Linked DNA regions of Homo sapiens: region 2 is linked to region 1. Evidence: promoter capture Hi-C in human tissues and cell types (Jung and others, 2019). All regions are on one chromosome and are shown on one strand. The core of a region is centred on a gene start or on the middle of the fragment in contact, and the rest is flanking DNA. Distances in the headings are between cores, read along the strand shown.

What was found. The method cuts DNA at HindIII sites, captures the fragments that hold promoters and counts their contacts. A contact is called where the count stands out against the background at its distance.
Region 2: a fragment that was not itself captured here is called in contact with the fragment with the promoter of GABPA in region 1 in 1 of the 25 tissues and cell types used here (heart left ventricle).

The regions. Positions count from the first base shown.
Region 1 is chr21:25,733,086-25,736,811 of GRCh38, forward strand. It overlaps GABPA (GA binding protein transcription factor subunit alpha), which reads left to right and starts at 1,887. Exons shown (of 10, transcript NM_002040.4): 1 at 1,887-2,493. ATP5PF (ATP synthase peripheral stalk subunit F6) reads right to left here and starts at 1,819. Exons shown (of 4, transcript NM_001003703.2): 1 at 1,768-1,819. RefSeq lists enhancers at 1,241-1,320, 1,639-2,294, 1,721-1,830, 1,851-1,970 and silencers at 1,431-1,530, 2,471-2,610, 2,671-2,880. The HindIII fragment of the contact is 8,192 bases long and covers 1-3,726 here.
Region 2 is chr21:26,806,900-26,810,625 of GRCh38, forward strand. No RefSeq gene overlaps it. Among named protein-coding and RNA genes, the nearest start is that of ADAMTS1, 37 kb to the right of the region's middle. The HindIII fragment of the contact is 3,946 bases long and covers 1-3,726 here.

The DNA.
Region 1 (3,726 bases), core at 637-3,136:
TAAAGAATTCATAACATATCACTTTTATACCCCATCAGGGAAAAATACTTGAGAAAAGGCTACAAGCAAACAACAAATGACCTCACAAGGTCATGTGCCACTTATTATCATTCCTATGTTTAAACACACAGAAACTGAGGATTAGAAGTATCTGGTCAAAGTGGTCGGGCGCGGTGGCTCACGCTTGTAATCCCAGCACTTTGGGAGGCCGAGGCGGGCAGATCACGAGGTCAGGAGATCGAGACCATCCTGGCTAACACGGTGAAACCCGGTCTCTACTGAAAAATACAAAAAATTAGCCAGGCGTGGTGGCGGGCACCTGTAGTCCCAGCTACTCCGGAGGCTGAGGCAGAAGGGCGTAAACCTGGAAAGTGGAGCTTGGAGTGAGCAGAGATCGTGCCACTGCAATCCAGCCTGGGCGACAGAGCGAGACTCTGTCTCAAAAAAAAAGTATCTGGTCAAAGTTACACAGCAAAATCTAACTTAACACATATATGCAAAAAAAAAAATTGTGCAATTCAATGCCACTTTCCCTTCTGGCAAACTAAGGACATGCTTAACATTCAGCAATAGGTTCACCCGACATTTGCTTAGCCCTAGATACTGTGCAAAGTACTTCCATATATATCCTTTCCTTGTACCCTTACAGCAATACTCTCAAAGAGTTAAAGTGTTCTTATCCCTGCTTTACAGATGATAAAACTGTATCTAAGAAAGATTAAGCTGCACGTATTCTCACAGTTAATTTGCTCTAAGTCTGACTGCATAGATGTTACTCCTTCTGCAACACGGGTAAAATCCACTTTCATTGTTTCAATTATCCACCATGTAAGTGCCTATGATTCCCCAATCGCATTTCTAATTTTAGTATTCATCCTGAGCCCCAAATCTATCCACAGCATTCAACAGTTCTCATCTCCCTTATAAGTCCTACGAACTCATCCAAAAAACGAACACATAATCCCATATCAAAACTTGTTCCTTCTCCTTTAATCCCTTTCATTTTTTTTCACTGATTAGTGAATGCATATTGTCCACTAAAACGCAGAAGATAGTCATTACACAAATAGCTGTGAAATACCACCTGACATAAATTCTCTATTCCAGTACCATCGGGTGCCACGAGAGCATATGATAGCGTCTGACATGATCAGAAAGACTGGGGAAGGCAACAGTAAGAAAACACTAGTCTGAGCAGAGGCCTTGTTCTGGGTGGGAGCATGGTTCTATTTATAGTGATGACTGACCGGCCAAAGGTTAGTAGGTTCGCTGCCTCTTCAGTGCATATTCCTATGAACAATCCATAAAGTCGCCTAATGAAGTGTTAGCACCATCGTTTTTAGGTGGGATGCAAACTTTCAATATTATGACTAATTTTTTCCCTCTTAATGGTACACGTTCTGCCTAAGTAGCCTAGACGCTCCCGTGCGCCCGGGGCGGGTAGGCCTGGCCGAAAATCTCTCCCGCGCGCCTGACCTTGGGTTGCCCCAGCCAGGCTGCGGGCCCGAGACCCCCGGGCCTCCCTGCCCCCCGCGCCGCCCCGATTTGCCCTCAGAGAGGGTATCGATCTTATTTCTGGGTCTACGGCAAACTCCAAGGTCTACAAACGTAGAGGTCAGCTGTGACCCCGGGCCAGGCCGTGAAGGTCCCCAGGACACAGAGCTGCTCTCTCCTCCTAGTAAAGGTGAGAGGCAGCCCAGGCCTCGTGAAAAAACCCAGAACTGGAGTCCCAAAAGGCCACGCTGATCTAGCTACCCTCCCAGTCACCTTGCACTCAGTCCCGAGCTGCCAAAGCCTCCGCCGCCACCACCTCCGCTCTACTTCCGGCCCTGGCTCCGCCCCCACACGCCTACCCGCCATCGCAATGCATTATGGGCCGCCGTTTCAGTCGGTCGACGCTCACCGGACAGGAAGCGTCTCGGAGACAGTCTGCGACCGGACGGGTCTAGGTGAGACAGAAGCCAAACAGGAGGAGGAAGTGGAGGGTAAGTGCTTCCGGGTCCCCTGGCACAGCCTCCGCCATCTTTTCTTCGCCTAATTTGACCCGTTCTTTTTCCCCTCCTTGAAACCTTGCTCTGTACGCATGCGCTCTTTGAGTGGCCTTTCCCCTAGTTCAAGCTCCCCTCCGAGTCAGCGTCCTGTTCGTTAGGGTTATCGAAGTGTATAAAGGTGCAGGGAAAGTGAGACTGTGTAAAACAAAGCGGATTGGGGCGTTGTGCTTCCTTGTACCTCGTGAGCCTCCGTTGCCTTGGGCGGTCGTTTTGCGCACCCTGCCGGGAGTTGTAGTCCTGGACCCGAAGGTGCCTGGGAGGCGGGAGGGGGGTTGGGGCTTCTCAGCGCCGATTCCGCGGGAAGGGCCCTGGGACCTCACACTTCTAGTCGCGGGAGCTGCAGGTCTTACCCGGAGAGACGCTGCACGTGGAGCCCTCGCCGCTGCCGTTCTCAGCCGGCTCTGGAGTGCGGGCGGGGGCGACAGGGCCGATTCCGGAGTGGGTGAGTGCGGCCGCCGGGGAGGAGGGGAGCGCGGGCCCTCGCGGGCCGGCCTCGTTCCGGGGCCTTTTCCCCCACAAGGGCCCCCCCGCGGCCGCCTCTGTGTTTTGTTTCCGCTGGTCCCCGGCGCTGTGACTCCCATTTCCGTTCGTGGAGACTTGAGGGAGCCGGGTGGGGAGGGGCGGGAGAGCTGTGCGGGGAGCGAAGGGGAGGGGCGGGGGGCGAGCGGCCTGGAGCCCGGGGGGACCGGGCACCGCCGGGACCCGTGCCGGACGGGTCGCCTGTCGCCGCTCCCTCCTTTCCGCGTCCCCTCCTCGCCCGTCCGCACTCCTCAGCAGTCTCAGCCTGCTCAGCTGGGATGTGGTCCTGACGCCCCCGAGATTTTAAGAGCAAAATGCAGACCCTGTCTCATCGCGGGACTCAGCGATTCACTCATTTCAAATCCGCTCTCTTTATAGAACAACACACACCAGAATCATTTATCAGCGTATATGGTAGCCATCTGGGTTTGTTTTTTTGTTTTTAAGCAAGGAAGTAAACCAAGGAGATAACAATGGGTTGTCTACTTGGAAATTTTTTTGTGTACTAGAAGACACGCTGTATGTGCGTGTTTGGATTTAGGGACCCCAGTTTGATCAGGTTAGCGGACCGAGAGGACAATGCCTAATATTGCATTGCAAGATGATTAGAAATTTAGAAATAAAATTCATTTCATAAGTAGTTTCCACTAATAGCAGTAGGTCTGACTCGTGAGAAGAGCAAAGATTTAGCAGGATTCACTTGAGCGAATTGTAGAACGAGGCGGTGATAACATTCTTCGGTAGTGTTATCTTGAACTTCAGAAGAAACCGCTCAACTCTTTAGCAACTGCTTGAGGGACTAGCCTGTCTCTCAGGGTTCCATCCAGGCTTTCCAAGCTTCTTTATTTTTAGACATACAGTGACGCTGAGTGGACTTCAAGTCAATTTTACCTGAATTGTGTATACAAGAGCATCTGTCATGAGGCATGTATAGTAATGAAGTAATTAAATCATGAGCTAGATGTTAGGTTGAAGCAAATCATCAGACCGAGTACTAAATTAAAACTGTTGACTTTAGCCTTCCCTCAACTCTTTATATATAAAACTCCAAACCTACAGAAGAATTGGGGAAAAAATCATGCAGTGAACACGCAGATACCCTTCACCTGAGGGTCCCAACTGTTAATCTTTCACTGTATGTGCTTTCTCTTTTTAT
Region 2 (3,726 bases), core at 590-3,089, 1.1 Mb after region 1:
CACAATAAGTCACCGTGAGTGTTTGTTTCTTTGACTCTTCCCCTTCCTCATGGTCTTCCAGACCTACAGAAACCTTCATCGTCCCTCTTAAATATTTCTGGAAGTCCCCAGAGGATGTCTTTTGCGTACTCATAAACTCAGCTCTGATAGATACTATATGTGCCCATATTTTCTTTCTGCCTGAACTGGCTTCATACAGTAATCAGAGTGGAGGCATCGATATGTCTGAAAGCCACAGTTAACACTACTATATTGTTTCCTGTTGCTGCTGTTGTAGGTGAGATCATCCTGTTAAAAAAAAAAAAAAAAAAAAAAAAAAGCCACTCTCTGCAAAAGCTGTCTTGCTGCACTCAAACCCATAACCTATCTAATGGAAGCTAGAGTTACTGAAGTCCATGTGGTGAAGCCATACTGTAGACGTGGTCAGTATTGCCTCTCAGCTTTGAATTCCATGGGTCATATCTTCCACATTTGGTGCTCTCTGTTCCTGGGAGAATTTGGTTGGAAAAGTCCTTTTCATTTCTATTTTGTTCTACTCCATAGAGCTCAAGCAAAATGGCTTAATGCTGGAAAAAGGACCCCATACGAGACGTGCCATATTCAAATTTACCCTCCCTTCAGTTATTGGGATATTTTCATCAGGCCAATCTCATAGGCTTTGCATTTTATTTGTGGATGACTTTTTAAAAATCTTATGGAGCTCTTACACAAGCTTTGCATAGATACTTGACACCCACTGGTTTATTTAAATCAATGGATAAATTCAGTTTAGGCTGCCAAGCTGGCATTACTAGACCAAAGGTAATATTACTAGACCAAAGGTAATTCATGCTAAGTTCAGTATATCTGCCTTCATCTTAACCCTATCCACAGCCATCCCCTCCTATTCATATTTCAGGTTGTCGGAATTCAAACTGGTCTTACTATCCATATGTTAGGTTGTCAAAATTCAAACTGGTTTTACTATTCAAATTCCAGGTTTTACGCACACTTGCACTTACATACCAGCTCTCCACTTCTTATGTTAAATCAATCTACTTATCCTCTTGAGATTATGAGCCTGACATACAGGATGTTCACTTACAGAGAAAATCATAGTTTACTTTTTTAGACCTGTTTATGCCACTCTACATGGAGAAGAAAATTGATGGGCTACTTAGATAGAAAACCCTCTTCAAGCCAGTCTAGCAAGGTCTCACTAGGGGATATTTCAATGGGAAAATATTTCTTTGTTACTCCTCCTATGCCCAAGCCCGGATTTGAAGTCCCAGAAGGAATCTGGATTGGGATGGGAAAAAATCTGGTAGTGTTGTGGAACCCAGACTAGGAGTTCATATGGAAGAAGAAAGAAAGCGGACGCCAGAGCACCATCGTACCTCACGCCACCCACAGGACACCAATAAAGCAACCTGTGACGATCAATGCTGGAAATGAGTGCCTTGGAGTTAGTGTTAAATGGATGCATGAGAATCTCAATTGAAGTTAAAAATATATACGATGAGCAAACTGAATGGAAGTAGAAAAATGGCAGTTATGAACACAACATTCAAAAGTGCCCCATCTCTATGTGTGAATGGGATTTTCAGCTTTCCTGGAACAAGGGAAGCTACTTGAGAAGAATTTATGTCTAGAATAAGAACAAATGAGATAATACTTTTTCAAACTTACCCTACCAGTAAATACTGCTGAACAATCTGTCTAATTTCTGTATGCAGTTACCTCCAGAAACATCAGAGAACCTATGGGAACTGGTATACGATGCCAATATTGAGTTTTGTGAGCACATGGGTTTTGAGACAACCTCTTAAAGAGCCCTTTCAAAATCAACAGAGCCTTGAAATAGTAAAAGACTCTGCTCTAGCCCTTACAATTTGAGTTTAGTATTGGATTGTTGGGATCCATTTAATACTGAGGTTCCAAGCCTGGGTTAAAAACTTTGCTAGGTCAAGAGCTACACCTTTGCCCCTTTTCCACCTGAGGTAAATTATTTCCTCCAAGAAATTACTTTCCTTTTTGAGCAAGTAACTTTCTGAAATGCTGAGAGAAACTGGTACTTTAAAATAGATAATTTGCCTCAGATGGGTCACACACTTTATTTCCAGAAGCCAGTTTAATTTTTTTTTTCCTTCACTCTGATGATTGGGTCAAATCCTTATTAATAAAATGTGTGCTACTGGAAAGGAAAGACACCTTTGTTACTTAATCCATGTGCGGCCATTTATATTTGGCATGCATAAATGTCATGAAGAACAGGGAAAAAATATAATTCATGAGCAAAATGCATTTTATGCTACTGTTCCCTTGCCAAATTAAGTATTATAGTTGGAAATTTAGGGTGGAGGCTCACTTTGGGAAAAAAGAATCAAATTGTCTGGGGATTTTGCTTTCATCACCAAAGGGATTTTATGTGTTTGGAAGGATCATCAATTCCTGACTTGGTGGTAGACAATACTCTTACTTCACGCAGGTCCTGCAGAATTCTAATATGGCTTGGTTGAAATTTCTTCTTTTGACTAGAAACTTTTTTCACATTTTTTTTCAGTATTCCCTTTGATGCAGTCAAAATAGGTGGACAAATACGTTGTCTACACTGAAACAAAGCTTGCTTGAATTCACCTATATGATGATGTCTTCATGAGCTTGCTTTGCCTTTCCAAATCTATCTTTAAAAGATTCACTAATCTCCAGATTTTAAAACATAGAGGAATGTTCCAACAGTACATTTTTCAAGTGATGTAAAAAGTTCTTGGAATTAATTTGTCATCAGCCTTGCTCTAAGGACGGTGTTGTTTCAGCCATGGCCATTTAGGAACTGATCATTGCTACCTACAACCCTGTTGAAAAGGCCCACTTCGTGCAAAAGTCAAAAGTAAAAAAAAAAAAAAAACTTTGTATACATTTTTTTTTCCACTGGATGTATTACATGGTTAAATTTATTTTTTTAAATTTGGAAAACAAACTTACTTTTAAGCACTTTCATGTCCTAACAAGTTTAAAACACACATAGAAGCGGAAGCATTCCTTCACCTGATGTTTCAGCGTTCAAGGTACTGAAAGTCGCTTGCTCATACAATGATATAAAGTTGATGAGTAATAAAGACACCTGATTTTATTTTTGCTCATGTGTCTCATGATGACAAAATTTGAGACAGGTCAACAAGAAATATTTACTAGATCTAGTAGTTGTTACTACATTTAAATTGATAGTTTCTAATAATGATGTTTTGCATAGGTCATAAGGAATTTTCTGTGAGAAATATTAGGAATAAAAGGATTTTCTTCACTCTTCACATGTGTTCTACAGATGTTCACAGACTAGTCTTCCTTTTATAGGCTCTGAATAAAGATAAAATATGGTGGAAATCAACCAATTCGTCATTGCTGTTTTATGCTGTAGAAATTACCCTTAATTTTCACTTACCTTTGTGTTCAAGGTCAAAGCCACCCCCATGAAAACTCCCAAACTACACACCAAAAAAACAAATCAAACGAAATAAAGCATTGCAAGAATGTGAAATTTGTGTTGAAAACATCTGGCTGACTATTCTCCCAGGCTATGCTCGGCACTCATTATTCATATAAATTGTGAGAAAGGTTTGGTGTCTGAACGTACCTCTAGCCCCTATGATGTGCGTATGTGATTTTTGCCCAAGTAGTCATCACCACAATCCTGTATAAGAAAAATAAATTTGAATTTGCTGTGAGTCAGCTTCATCTTTTAAATTA